Regions from separate parts of the Homo sapiens genome. Here regions 1, 2, 3 and 4 are each linked to region 5. Evidence: promoter capture Hi-C in human tissues and cell types (Jung and others, 2019). All regions are on one chromosome and are shown on one strand. Each heading gives the region's core, a stretch centred on a gene start or on the middle of the fragment in contact. The rest is flanking DNA. Distances are from core to core; before and after follow the strand shown.

Region 1 (2,700 bases), core at 134-2,633, 380 kb after region 5:
TTTAACGCCTTCTCTGGATTTCTGACGTATGTAAAGGGACTGTCTGGTGACAGTCTTTTCAGGGATGCGTCCCTGTTACGTACTTTGTTTCCTTTTACAGCCTGGACATACTTGTCCCTTTTGCTTCTGCTGAATCTCAGCAGCCTTGGGCACTGCAGGAGCCTTGGTCTCCAGCTTTGGGCTTCACACTCCTGTGGCCCTGCCTGCCCTGTGGCAGGGGCTGTGCTGGGGGTGACCTCATGGTGGGGTCATGCCCTCTTGGCCTCCATGTGCCAAAATAAGGGCTCTATGAATACAAGGAGTTTAAAAGCTGCTTGTAAAAAATATTTGTTGCTAGCATTTCTGTAAATAGGGGTCACTGTGGGAGGGTCTGTACTGTGCAGTTTTGTCCTGAGACGTAAGAAGGCCCCATTTGCTGTCACCACGCTGGGCACCAGGGTGGCCCCGCCTTTGAGAGTGGGCATGAGTGGGCCTGTTGTCGTGGTCTGCACGCCTGCTGCCCCCGTGTCTGCAGAGCATTGCCGCTCTTCCTTCTTGTCTGTCTCATTTTACTCTGGCCCATTTGGGGAAAGGCTCCTGCTTTTGACTTTTCTTGTGTCCTTGCATCACAAAGATCTTTTGAGGGTCTTGAACCCCCAGCACGTTTTTACAGGGGTCAGAGGTGGAGACACACGAAACGGGGGGAGCTGTATTAGACACATTGCATTGCTCTGTTGCGTGCTTATGTCTGAGATGATGCATCGGGTGGAGTAGGAAGGTAAACTTGCTTTCATCTTTTGTGTGTGCTGTTTCCTGATACAGAGGCTATTATCCAATGAAGAGGAAAAGAACAGAGCCATCATTCAAGAAGTTTGCTTCATGGTATCCTTTTCCTGGAACCAGGAGCCAGCACGGTGGCTTTGGCAGGCACAGGCCTGCGTCAAGCTGTGACCGCCAGTGGCCAAGAGGCTGCTCCGTGACGTTGTCTTTCATGTGTTAAAATCGGCTTTTTGCTTTTACCAAACCTAGTTGTAGGCGACTTCTAGGAAGAAGCAGTTTTTTCTGTTTTTTTTTTACTGCCAGGGTAATAGTAGAAGATTCAGAAGTGTTGGGAATGAAGTTGTTCCTACCCAAGAGGTCTCCCTGCCCAGTGGATGGGCTGGTTACCACAGGGGGCCCTTGCCCGGCCCGGCCCCCTCAGCTCCTCCGGAGACCTGGCTGAGAGCCGTGCAGATGGCCTGGCTCCCACAGGCCCCGATGTGGCTTCTCAGCCGCCCCTCTCGTCCCTTCTCAGGCTGTCCCAGCATGACTGGGCGGGGCATCTCCCGGCGCTGACAGAGGATCTGGGGGCTGCACTCCCTGTCCACTGCCACATGTCCCTCCTGAGCCTGGAGTCTTCGGCCCTGGCTGCCCTCAGACTCTGCCTCTCTTTCCTCTCCTAGCTCTGTTCACTCGGAGAGCCCGCCGGCTGCCTGAGTGTGGGTTCGGGTGGACACAGCCACGCCGCAGCCTCCCTGCGCACAGCCCCCTGAGGGCCCTGCCTCCTCCTGCCACGCGCGGGATGGACTTTGGTGTCGCTGTGGTCAGGTGTGTGTGGCCGGTGTGCCTGCCTTTGTCCCCGCCCTCTCCTGCAGCTCCTCCTGCCTCTGTCTGCCTTTCTCTCGGTCGTCCACTGCTCTCTCCCTCATCTTCCGCTCTGACGTCTAAAATTGTAAGGGTTCGATTCAAGTATTCTGACTTCAGTGTGTTAATATTGTCTACATTTATTTTGAAGTGCACAGAACTGTGGACATGGTTATGTACGTTCTCCTTTAACAAGACAACTGCAGAAAAAGCTTTCCGGCCACCCGAACATTGTCCAGTTTTGTTCTGCAGCGTCTATAGGAAAAGAGGAGTCAGACACGGGGCAGGCTGAGTTCCTCTTGCTCACAGAGCTCTGTAAAGGTAACGTCCTGTGAAGGCCGGCTTGGTGCCATCTAACCCAGCAGAGGCCGGCTTGATGCCTCCTAACCCAGCTGCATGGCTGTGAAACATGCCCGGCATCTTCTCTCAAGCTGTGTTGGTCTTAGCGGGAAGCGCGGGCAGCTCTCTGACAGTAGTTCTGTGAGAGGCCCACGCTGACGCCCAGTGAGCTTCCCACTGTCCCGGTGGGCCACCTGCATCGTCTCCTCGTGGAGCTGCGGGCAGCCAGAGAGCCGGGCTCCCATCCTGCCTGTCTCCAGTGGCAGCACGGGGTAGAGCGTGGTGGCCTTCCGTGAGTGGTGTTTAGCAGGGGTGGAGGAGCGTCTGTCCTTCTCAGGGCTCTGGGGTCCCTGTGGGGTGGAGCGTGGTGGCCTTCCATGAGCGGTGTTGAGCAGGGTGGAGGAGTGCTGCTGTCCGTCCTTGTCAGGGGCTCTGGGGTCCTGGCAAGGAGAAGAGAGGCCGCAGAGGTGGACAACTCCAGGTCCCTCTGTGGGTGCCCAGCCTCATCAGGGTTGAGCCCAGGAAGATGGCACAACGACTCCATGGTCCGTTTGTCAGGACAGGAAGAGAGGCCGGTGGGTTGGGGTGGTGCTTTCGGAGAGTTCTAGGGGCAGAGTGGTCTGTGTGAGTGACTGCGGGGGATGTCGTGTTGGTGTCACCGGAGCCCACGCTGACTGGCCGGAGACCTGGCCTGACCCTGCTGAGCCTCAGGCTGTGTCTGCAAAGGGGAAACAAGACCTGTGCCTCAGAGGGCGGCTC
Region 2 (2,700 bases), core at 199-2,698, 430 kb before region 5:
GTCCTCACGCCGGTCACCCACACACTTGCCACCCTTTCTGTCTACAGCGTTCCCAGTCTAGGGAATGACGTAGGGAAAAAGGCTGCCAGAGAGAACCGAGTGTCGACCAGGGCAGGAACCCCACAGGCACCTGGTGGTGGAGGGGGACCTGGGGAGGCTTTGATTTGAAGAAGAGCAAAGTTGGGGAGGGTCCTGGAGAAGAGAGAGGGGGCAGCCCCGGCAGGTCGGTGCTGCAGCTTGAGAAGCCCACTGTGGTGCTGTGTGTGGGTGGGGAGGTTAAGAGCAGAAGGGAAGCAGGGAAACCACAGGCTTCTGGAGCCCAAGGAGTAGATGCCAGACCAGACCCGGGCCTGGCCACTGGCACATATGGGACTTACGGACGACGCTTAGGTTTTCGCCCTGAATAACTGGGTACAGGGCAGGGGAAGGGGTGCTGGATCGCTGGGGGACCCGCAAGCCTCGAACTCAGGGAGAAAGTGACTCGGAGGAAGCCTTCTGGCGGCCTGGAGGAGCTCGGGAGAGCAGCAGACCCAGCCTTAGTCAGGAGGGGCCTTTACTGACTATGGAGGCCCGGGAGGGGCTCTGGGCAGAGAAGGGACCGGCCCCAGGCTGGTGCTTTGGTGCTACTCTGGTGCACAAGAGGGATGCGGTGCGGGGGGAAGGTGGAGCGGCGCAGCAGGTGCGGGGAAGCGGTAGGGGCCCAGGTGTCCGCCGCAGGCGGCCTAGATGGAGTTGGCCCCAGGACGGAGGCCGGAAGGGACCAAAGAACAACAGGAGGGTCCGCGTGCTGGGAGCCAACAAAGAGCCAAGGTGGGCGACCGAGAGACAGGAGAGGGTCGAGGAGAGCAAAGCACCTCGGGGCGCCCGCTCCGCCGTCGGTCTTGGCCCAGCTCTAGCCGCCCCTGGCCACCATCCAGGGGGCCCAGCCCGGCGGTCGGTCTAGGGCCGGGTCCCATGACAGGGCGCGGTACAGGTTCTGGCGGCGGCCCCAGGAGGAGCCGTGGGGGACGCTTCCCGGGGAAAGCGGCGGCCGGGGCGGGAGGGCGAGGGCCGAGGGCGGGGCGGGGCGGGACGGCCTCGCGCCCCCAGGACCCCAGCCTCCCCGCGCCGTGTAGCCGCTCTCCTACCTGCCCGCCCGCCCGTTGCCGGGCTCTGAGCCCGCGCCGCCGCCGCCAGGAAGGAGGGGTCCGCGTCTGCTCCACGCCGGGGGCCAAGCCTAGCTGCTACCGCCGTCGCGCTTCTAGCCCTTGATGGCCGCCGGCGCGCCGGAGTTTCAAACGCCGACGGTTGCCTTCGCGCGGCCAATCAGCGCGCGGCCGGGGGCAGGACCGCAGGAGGGCGGGCGTCCAATGGGAAGCTGTGCCTCGCCGGCTCCGCCCTCCCTCCCCCCCCACCCCCCGCTCGGGCGCCGACGGTTCCGTTTCCGGAGTGGAGGGCACGCCAGGGTGTCTGAAGCTGAGACCCCGGGCTCGCAGTCGCCCCATGAATTTCGAGTTCCGCAACTGACGCTACTGGGCGGGGCTTCATGGCCAGGGCCTCGCTCAGGCCTAAGTTTCCCCACCTGTGCTCAATGCACAGGTGCGGTGCCGCCTCCAGGGCCGGCCGAGAAGAGAGGCCGCACCCGCACGGGGACTGCATCTCCCAGAGCGCCCCGCGAGCGGCCGAGCGGCGGGACTCCATGCCCTAGAGTGCCCCGCGGGCGGCCGGGCGGCGGGACTCCATGTCCTAGAGTGCCCCGCGGGCGGCCGGGCGGCGGGACTCCATGTCCTAGAGTGCCCCGCGGGCGGCCGGGCGGCGGGACTCCATGTCCTAGAGTGCCCCGCGGGCGGCCGGGCGGCGGCCGCCGCAACCGACAGGTCCGGGACTGGGCGCTGCGGCCTCGTCCGCGCGCCGGGGCGGGGGCCTAGCTCGACAGCTTCCCGGCGGCTGCGCGATGGACAGCCCCGAGGTGACCTTCACTCTCGCCTATCTGGTGTTCGCCGTGTGCTTCGTGTTCACGCCCAACGAGTTCCACGCGGCGGGGCTCACGGTGCAGAACCTGCTGTCGGGCTGGCTGGGCAGCGAGGACGCCGCCTTCGTGCCCTTCCACTTGCGCCGCACGGCCGCCACGCTGTTGTGCCACTCGCTGCTGCCGCTCGGTGAGGCTGCTCGGGCCGGCCGGCCGCATCCTCTCCTGCGCAGGGCTTGCTGGGAGGTCAGGAGGAGGCCTCCGCCAGCTCCCCGAGGCCCCGAAAGCGCCTGGGCGCAGCTGGGGAGAGGCGCCGGTCCTCATCCAGAGGGACCGCGGCGTGGGCTGAGCGCGCTTAGGGGCGCCGCCGGCACTGACTTGCAGGTGACGGGAACCCAAGTTCAGAACCTTGGGCAAGGGATGCTCCGGCCCACCAAGTCCTGAACCGTCACGTGCCTGGGGGTTGCAAGGCCAAGCAGCCCTTGCTTGTCGTGGTTGGGGGCAGTGGCCAGGAGAAGGCAACTGTTGATTGAGTCCAACGGAAGGGGTCGGAGGGGCTGTGTGGAGGGTGGCACTGCACTAGGCCTTGGAAGGTGGGTGTGGAGAGAACAGGCGGATTTGGAGGCAGTTCCAGTTTGGGGGCGCCACAGGGGCAGAGGCTGGGGAGGGCCTCTGTGCAGTGCAGGTGGGACGCTCAGAGTTGTCCAGGGGGGTGCTGGGCTGGGCCCCAGGTGCTAGCTGGGGCTCTGGAA
Region 3 (2,700 bases), core at 133-2,632, 510 kb after region 5:
TTTACAAGGAAGTGGGCCAATGGGCCTACCAGAAGATTCAGGAAGTTAACTAAAGTTTGACCACACAAAAAATCTTTGTCAGGAGCCCTCTCTAGGGAGCAGCATGTCTGGGTCTCCTGTAACCTTCCTGATGCTGCTGGCTGGGAATGCCCCAGGGAGCTGCCCAGTCCCAGGGCAGGAGGGCCCCATGTGCCCTGACCCCAGGCCGGGCCCTCCTGGATGCCAGGTGGGAGCTGGGAGGGAACGTGCTCTCCTCCAAGCCCAGGGAAGGGTGTATCCAGCTCCTCCTCCTGCTGCCTCTGGGGAAGTGTGCACCCCAGGCACCACCAAATTGCCCAGGGTGATCTCTCCTCTGCCAGCTGGCCCCCCTTCCTCCTGGAACAGAAACTCAGTGTCTTTGCACCCACCCCTGTGTCCGTGGCTGCTGCCAGCTGCCCCTCAACAGGGCACCCCAACATCCAGCCACTGCTCAGCCTCCATCCTCCCCCAGCCTCCCATTTCCCATCCACAGCCTGGTCTGGACCCCCTTGCAAGCCTAAGCAGCGACTTGGACGTGCCAGGTCACGACCCAGGCAGCTTTCCCTTGGAGTCTTTTTTTTTTGAGACAGAGTCTCTCTCTGTCCCCCAGGATGGAGTGCAGTGGTGCGATCTCGGCTCACTGCAAGCTCCGCTCCCAAGTTCACACCATTCTCCTGCCTCAGCCTCCCGAGTAGCTGGGACTACAGGCACCCGCCACCACGCCCGGCTAATTTTTTGTATTTTTAGTAGAGACGGGGTTTCACCGTGTTAGCCAGGATGGTCTGGATCTCCTGACCTGGTGATCCGCCCGCCTCGGCCTTCCGAAGTGCTGGGATTTCAGGCGTGAGCCACCGCACCCGGCTCCCTTGGAGTCTAGACGAGCCCTTCCTACAGCAATGAATGCTGGGTCAGACCTGAGCTTCTCCGGGATCCAGCTCTCATCTCAGGTGACGGGGTCTGAGGCCTCCTGGGAATGGCACTCCTCCCCAGATGTTTACTGAGCCCCTGTGATATGCGCTGCTCTGTTCTAGGGGCTGGGAATACTAGTCCCTCCCTCCTGGAACTGGTTTTCCTAGTGATGGAGGACAGATGATAAACATGGAAGTGGCGGTGTTTGCCCTGGAGGAAAATCAAGCAGGACAGGGAGCAGAGAGCAATGGTTAGGGTTACTATTTCATGAGTGGTCAGGGGGCCTCTCTGTCAGAGTGACGTGCACAGACCCGGAGGGAGGCGCGTGTCCCGTGGGAGAGCATTCTGGGCAGAGAACAGCCATTCGAGAGCCAGGAGGCAGCGCTGCCTGGGTGCCACCAGCGTGGCCCTGGCCCCATGCACTGGCTGGGCACCACCCTGCCCCCGGAGTCTCCTCCTTCTGAACGTTTGACTGTATCTTGAACACAGCGGGGCCGGCTTTCAAGCTCCAGACACGGCCTCCTCCCCAGGCCAGGAAGCCCTGTCAGGCAGCAGATCCGGCCCCCTCAGCAGATCGGCCCCTCCAGAAGACCCGCCCCTCACAGCAGATCCGGCCTTCCCAGCAGACCCGCCCCCCGAGTAGATCCGCCCCTCCAGGATATCCATCTCCCCAGCAGATCCGTCCTCTCCAGCAGAACCGCCCCCAGCGGAGCCGCTCGGGCGGGGCCTCCGGGCCTGGGGAAGGGAGCGGGGACCGGGCCGTGGAAGGACCGCGCCCGCCCCTGGCCAGCCTGAGCCAATCAGCGCATGCTAGGTGGGCCGACATGATTGGCTCCTAGAGGCTCACGTGTGGAGGCCTGACCAATCAGAGCCCGAGAGACGCCATTGCAAGCCTCTGCAGAGGCGCTGGAGCTGGGTCAGTCCGCCGCTCACCCCGCGGCCGCACCTTCCCGCCTTCTCAGGTAACTAAGTGCGGGTCTCGGGCCTGGCAGAAGCTTCTTCGGCCCCGTGCCCTCGCCTGGCCCCGCCCCGTCGGTTGTGTGCTTGTCTCGTCCTGCCCCCAGGCCCTGCCGGTCCCCACCGTTAGGCCGGCGTCCCTGCCCGGCCCCGCTGCGGGCTGGCGCCAGCTCAGGAGGACGCCCCGAAGCCGAGGCCTCGGAAGCAGGTTTTTCCCAGACCTTCTCCTGTCCCGCGTTCCCCCTAGGCCGGCCGTAGGGACCAGACCCCACCCTAAGCCCATAGCCGGCCTTCGCGCTCCGGGTGACCCTGGCTGGCCCTGTTTGTCTGTGGGTCCTGGGATGCGCCACTCCCGGCAGGAAGGGGCGCCGCCGAGGCCCGGTCTCAGCCTGGAACCCCGCTCCTGCCGTCGGGGCGCTTTCTGCGGCTGCCCACACACGACCCCAGGCAAGGGGTGGGGGCGCGGGACCCTCCATGACATGGCGGCGGGGCGCTCTCACTTCTTTGAAACCAGCGTAAACTGGACCCGCCCCACCTCCCATACCTTGGGGGAGCCCCGGGAAAGGCTGTGGCCTGGGGGTCTGCAGGGCGTTGGCAGTGGAGGTGGGGAGAGACCCCAGCCCTTTCCTGTCCCCCCCACCAGCCTTGCCTTCCTCGCCGTGAGCCGGGGACAGTGGAGGGGAGTCAGGGAGGGCCCACCAGATGGACTTTCTTGTGACTCATCCTATAAAGCCCCTCGGGCTTAGCCACCCTCCCCAGGACCCGTGTGGTCTCCCGGACTGTGCTGGAAGCTTAGAGCCAGAATGACTTTTCCAC
Region 4 (2,700 bases), core at 87-2,586, 410 kb before region 5:
CCACGGAGCTTCTGGATTGCATAGGATGGTGTGCCTGCGGGCATCAGGGTGGAGCTTCCTCAGACCTGGCTGCTTTATTTTTATATCTTTTTTAAAAACAGCAATATTTATTTTGCCCTCAGATATAAAAGGAAACTCCTCATCAATGACTTTGGAAGAGAGAGAAAATCATCATCAGGAAGGTAAAGGCTGTGTAAATGTTTCTTTTCTAATTTGATAGACCTGTAATTTGTTAAAAAAAAAAAATTGTGACTGTCAGAAATGCTGACTGTCGCAGTAGCATTTATTAATACCTTTTTCACTAATTTGAAATACTGTATCTGTTGTGTACTAAATTCCCATACATGCAGTCTCCGGACTATTTAGGATTCATATGGTTGGGAATCTGGAGTGAATCTTCCATTATTGTGTTTTGACATTTTCTTGGCTTACCTTACATACATGGTGATCTTAATTGCAGGGCTTATTCTGTTAATCTGTTGTTTTTTCAGTTCTGATTCAAAGGAGTCTATGTCTACTGTGCCGGCTGACTTTGAGACAGATGAAAGTGTCCTAATGAGGAGACAGAAGCAGATCAACTATGGGAAGAACACAATTGCCTACGATCGTTATATTAAAGAAGTCCCAAGGTAGTCTTGTTTCAGTGGCATGTCTTGAACAAGCTGTGTGGCATTGCGTTTCTAAAGAGTTGCTTAGATTGGGTAGTACAAATGATGCTGGGGATAGTTCACACCTGCTAAGAGCTATTTAATAGGGACTTACTGGGGCTTATGACGTAAATAAAGAATGGATTGGCAACTGGAAAACTAAAGACATGAAGATTTTAAAAATCATTTTCATATAATTTTGAATGTTAGATAACATTTTATTTCTTAGGAGTCAGCAATCATAGATGTAAGCTTATTAAAATACATGATGGGGAAAAATGAAGTTCAAGTTAAATATTGTAAAATTCTAATTGGAGAAAAAAAAATTGGCATTGCCCTATTGTCTTTAAGCAGCATGTTCTTGCCTATCCTGGTCCCTCAAACACACAGACACAGAAGGATATAAAGAAAGCTTTAGTGTTTTCCTGAACTTTTTGGCAGGATTGGGGTTGAAATTTACATTTCTGGGCCAGGTGCAATGGCTCATGCTTGTAATTCCAGCACTTTGGGAGGCCGAGAGGACTGCTTGAGGCCAGGAGACTAGCCTGGGCAATATAAGGAGACCTCATCTCTACAAAAAATTTAAAAATTAGCCAGGTGTGGTGGTTTGCACCTGTAGTCCCAGCTACTTGGGAGACAGGTGGGAGAACTGCTTCAGCCCAGGAATTCAACGTTACAGTGAACCATTAATCACACCACTGCACTCCAGCCTGGGCTGCAGAGTATGAGACTTTGTCTCTTAAAAAAAAAAATTTTACTTTTGGCTGAGTGCAGTGGCTCATGCCTGTAATCCCAGCACTTTGGGAGGCCGAGGAGTGCGGATCATGAGGTCAGGAGATCGAGACCACCCTGGCTAACACGGTGGAACCCCGTCTCTACTAAAAATACAAGAAATTTGCTGGGCGTGGTGGCACACATTTGTAGTCCCAGCTACTCGGGAGGCTGAGGCAGGAGAATCACTTGAACCTGGGAGGAGGAGGTTGCAGTGAGCCGAGATTGCACCACTGCACTCCAGCCTGGGTCACAGAGCAAGACTCCATCTCAAAAAAAACAATTTTTTTTTTTTTTTTTTACTTTTTTGGAACATAGCTGGCAAAGGAATAGTAAGATTCAATGTGATGGTGCTTTTTTTTTTCCCTCCTGACCGAGTCTTGCTGTTACCTAGGCTGAAGTGCAGTGTTATATCATGTCTCACTGTGTATTCATTTTTTTGAGACGGAATCTTGCTCTGTTGCCCAGGCTGGAGTGCAGTGGCGCAATTTCAACTCCACCTCTCGGGTTCAAGCGATTCTCCTGCCTCAGCCTCCACAGGCGCCTGCCACCACACTTGGTTAATTTTCGTATTTTCAGTAGAGATGGGGTTTTACCATATTGGCCAGGCTGGTCTCGCACTGCTGATCTCGTGATCCGTCTGTCTCTGCCTCCCACAGTGCTGGGATTACAGGGGTGAGCCACCACGCCCAACCATCATGGCTCACTGTAGTCTTAACTCCTGGCCTCAAGCAATCCTCCTACCTCAACCTCCTGAGTAGCTGGGACCAGCGGTGCATGCCGCCACACCTGGCTAAACTTTTAAATTTTTATAGAGATGGGAGTCTCCCTATGTCGCCCAGGCTGGTCTTGAACTCCTGGCCTCAAGTAGTCCTCCCAAAGTACTGTGATTACAAGCGTGAGCCACTGTGCCCAGCGGATAGTGATTTTTTTGAGACCGAGTTTCACTCTAGTCCAGGCTGGAGTACAATGGTGCAATCTTGGCTCACCGCAACCTCCGCCTCCCAGGTTCAAGCGATTCTCCTGCCTCAGCCTCCCAAGTAGCTGGAATTACAGGCATGCGCCACCATGCCTGGGCTAATTTTTTTGTATTTTTAGTACAGATGGTGTTTCTCCATGTTGGTCAGGCTGGTCTCGAACTCCTGACTTTGGGTGATCTGCCTGCCTCGGCCTCCCAAAGTGCTGGGATTACAGGTGTGAGCCACCGCACCCGGCCCGGATAGTGCTTTTTAATTTTTTAATTTTTTTAAACATATTTGTTCATTTTGTAGGATCTCAGTTG
Region 5 (2,700 bases), core at 122-2,621:
CTTTGGGAGGTCAAAAGGCAGGAGGATCGCTTAAGTCCTGGAATCCAAAACCACCCTAGGCAACAGTGAAACCCCGTTTCTTTTTAAAAATATGAAATAAACCGCTAGTTAATAAAGAGGAGGAGAAGCTTGCTTCTGCTTTCCTATGAAGACCAGCTACAGCAGGGTACAGCCTGACTTCAGCAGCGCTAACTGTAGCAGGGACCTTTTAATGAATGCTAGGCACTGTTTGAAACAATACGTGGTCACTCATTTCACCCTGAGGTGACACAGGCGCTACCACTGCTTAAACCTGACAAGAATAAACAGTCACCAACCGGGCCCTGATGTCTCCCAGTAAGGACGAATACAGAGAAGCCTGATTCACACCCCAGCAGGATGGCTCACAGCCTGTGCTCTTCAGCCCTTCGCTGAACTGCCCTGGGGCTGGGGGAACGCACAGCAACCTGGCCATACTGCATCCTCCACACCTGTCGCCACACCGTCCGTCCTCAGACGGACGTGAACACCAGGGCGCTCTGGGAGGAGAGAGAAACTACGCAGCTCTCCAGGAAGGCAACACAGAACCACGAAGCTCAGCCGCAGCTCTAGGAAAGCTATGACCTTGATCTTTTAAGGAATTCCTTCCCAGGTGCTTCATATCAAATCCTCTACTAACTAGGTAAAGAACAAGTATCGGCTCCTTCTACTAGGAGCACAAATTTCATTCTAAGAAGTGCGACGTGGCTAGGTGACCACCCAAGGTCACGCAACCGGCAGCCGGACGGCAAGAGCTGTATTTCAGGTTTGGTGACGCCCATCAAAAAGGTCGCTGGGTGCCATCAGGCCGTGAGGTTTCTCCCTACAGTTCCTAACTAGCGACCGGCGCAGCCGGCACCTCCCAGCCCTGGGCTCCCGGGAGGGCGGCCGGGCACTGGCTGGGCACGCCGCGCACTCCGTCTGCCTGGGCGCCAGAGACCCCACGCCCCGCAAACTCCGGCTTCCACCCCAGCCCCAAATTCGCCACCCTTAGCGCTGCCAGAGTCGTCGCTGGCTCGGCTCACGCAGCTCTTCAAGCAGAGGGGCCACAGTCGGGCGCCTGGCAGGGCCAAAGCCGCCGCCCCCGCCACACCTGCCCGGCGCGGACCGGGCGCCCCTGAGAAGCCCGCACGGCCCCGCGAGGCCGCGCCCAGCTCCCGCCGCCCTCGCCGCTGGCCCTCCCGGGGCGGCCCCTCGCGGCCCGAGGGCACTGGCTGGAGACGCCTTCGCTGCCCTCAGCCTGCGCGGCGCAGGCGCCCACCTTGAGGGTCGGGTACTCCTGGACCTTCAGGGTCATGGACAACTGAGCCGCCGACTCCTGCACCGCCATCTTGAAGCGGCCAAAACATTAGCGGGCGGGGGACGCGCGAGCGCGCTGCACGCCGGGAAATGACGCCACGCGCCGGCCGGAGCAGGATGGGGGCGGGCCGATGCCCCTGCACCAATCGTATCCGCCCAGTCGGCCGGAGGCGGAAGAAGGCGCGAACCAATCACTGCCGGGTTTCCTCTCGTTCAGCCAATCAACGATAGCCCCGGCTGGCGGTTTCCACCTTGAATTCGCTACCGGGTTCAGGCCGCAGACGCCGGAGCTGGGGATGCTCCTGGCCCGGGGCGGGCCGATGGGGTGCGGGCTGCGGCCCGGGCGGGTGGAGCTGGGGCCGAGCGGGCTGGGGGACTTGGCGTCCGTCCAGTTACTTGGGGCTCCCGCGGGGTGGTCCCCTGTGGGTCCCTCGTGCCTGCGGTACCAAGGGCAACGCCAACAAAACGCCTGGCCGCATGCGCCTGTAGCCAGCTATTTTTCTTTGGCCTTATTTTGACCGATTTACAGCTGCTGGAATCCTGATGTGGAACCTCCGACTTCCCAACGGAAGAGGAAAGGCCCAGTACCTAAAACTGATTTATGGACAGAAACTCCCGAAGCATGAGAAGCGTGTGGCCTCTCCGCCCTCTCCTTGCAGGGCGGGCAGCGCTGGCATCCAGGTCGTGCGCTGCCTTCATTTCAGCCACTTCACATTCTCAGCCTTTCAAACACCACCCGTCTCCCTCCTTTCCAAAATAAAACTGAAATTAGATTTTATTAATTAGGAAATGACGTCCCAATTAAACCACCTTGTGTTTCACATAACACATTTCTAAACAACTTTTAAAATATTTGGTGTTTAAACAAAGGAAAAACATCTAAGGTGACACAGCGATGAAGGGAGAACCTCCGCTTGGAGGCTGCTACATGTTACAGCCGCAAGACATCCGACCCGCACTGTGGAATCTTTCTCTGTCTTACTTAAACAGGAGTTGGGACTAAGGAAAGTGTTATTCCTCAAGTGTGTGGCTGCAGACTCCAGTCTTTTAGACATTTGAAGTAAGTTTTACAGTGAGGTGCACAAATCTTAACTATACAGCTTTAATGAATTTTCACCCATATTTGCACTTTTATCTAACCGTGTCCTGGTTGAGATTTAGGACATTTCCCGTGGCACAGAAAGCTCCTCTGCCCCTTCCCGGGCTATATCCCCATCATTCTAACCCTGCTCCCCGTAACAGCGTTCCTGACCTTCCTATAGAGATGGAAGCATGCACTCTGTACTCTTTGCGTCCTTTCACGGTTCGCATCGTGTCTGCCACTCTCCGGGATGGTCCCAGTAGTACACAGGAGCACTGCAGCAGTTGGATGGACTGCACTCC

What was found. The method cuts DNA at HindIII sites, captures the fragments that hold promoters and counts their contacts. A contact is called where the count stands out against the background at its distance.
Region 1: a fragment that was not itself captured here is called in contact with the fragment with the promoter of MAEA in region 5 in 2 of the 25 tissues and cell types used here (IMR-90 fibroblasts and lymphoblastoid cells).
Region 2: the fragment with the promoter of TMEM129 here is called in contact with the fragment with the promoter of MAEA in region 5 in 1 of the 25 tissues and cell types used here (dorsolateral prefrontal cortex).
Region 3: a contact is called between a fragment that was not itself captured here and the fragment with the promoter of MAEA in region 5, in 2 of the 25 tissues and cell types used here (dorsolateral prefrontal cortex and mesendoderm cells).
Region 4: a fragment that was not itself captured here is called in contact with the fragment with the promoter of MAEA in region 5 in 3 of the 25 tissues and cell types used here (dorsolateral prefrontal cortex, hippocampus and mesendoderm cells).

The regions. Positions count from the first base shown.
Region 1 is chr4:910,896-913,595 of GRCh38, reverse strand. It overlaps GAK (cyclin G associated kinase), which reads left to right. Exons shown (of 28, transcript NM_005255.4): 3 at 802-861; 4 at 1,809-1,923. Among named protein-coding and RNA genes, the nearest start is that of GAK, 20 kb to the left of the region's middle. RefSeq lists enhancers at 1-801, 802-1,707 and a silencer at 893-1,051. The HindIII fragment of the contact is 5,304 bases long and covers 1-2,700 here.
Region 2 is chr4:1,720,071-1,722,770 of GRCh38, reverse strand. TMEM129 (transmembrane protein 129, E3 ubiquitin ligase) reads left to right here and starts at 1,448. Exons shown (of 4, transcript NM_001127266.2): 1 at 1,448-2,138. The coding sequence starts at 1,934. TACC3 (transforming acidic coiled-coil containing protein 3) reads right to left here and starts at 1,250. Exons shown (of 16, transcript NM_006342.3): 1 at 1,128-1,250. RefSeq lists enhancers at 420-1,415, 2,498-2,597 and silencers at 1,038-1,847, 1,858-1,907. The HindIII fragment of the contact is 14,879 bases long and covers 1-2,700 here.
Region 3 is chr4:780,961-783,660 of GRCh38, reverse strand. It overlaps LOC124900163 (chloride intracellular channel protein 6-like), which reads left to right and starts at 1,813. Exons shown (of 2, transcript XM_047416474.1): 1 at 1,813-1,889. It overlaps PCGF3-AS1 (PCGF3 antisense RNA 1), which reads left to right and starts at 1,812. Exons shown (of 3, transcript NR_171661.1): 1 at 1,812-1,889. RefSeq lists enhancers at 545-1,262, 1,263-1,979, 1,980-2,697 and silencers at 1,524-1,873, 1,974-2,053. The HindIII fragment of the contact is 6,790 bases long and covers 1-2,700 here.
Region 4 is chr4:1,697,493-1,700,192 of GRCh38, reverse strand. It overlaps SLBP (stem-loop histone mRNA binding protein), which reads left to right. Exons shown (of 8, transcript NM_006527.4): 4 at 123-182; 5 at 492-629. Among named protein-coding and RNA genes, the nearest start is that of SLBP, 13 kb to the left of the region's middle. The HindIII fragment of the contact is 4,940 bases long and covers 1-2,700 here.
Region 5 is chr4:1,288,562-1,291,261 of GRCh38, reverse strand. It overlaps MAEA (macrophage erythroblast attacher, E3 ubiquitin ligase), which reads right to left and starts at 1,371. Exons shown (of 9, transcript NM_001017405.3): 1 at 1,280-1,371. The coding sequence starts at 1,348. It overlaps LOC105374347 (a long non-coding RNA gene), which reads left to right and starts at 1,691. Exons shown (of 3, transcript XR_925046.3): 1 at 1,691-2,377. RefSeq lists silencers at 1,061-1,340, 1,441-1,850. The HindIII fragment of the contact is 22,633 bases long and covers 1-2,700 here.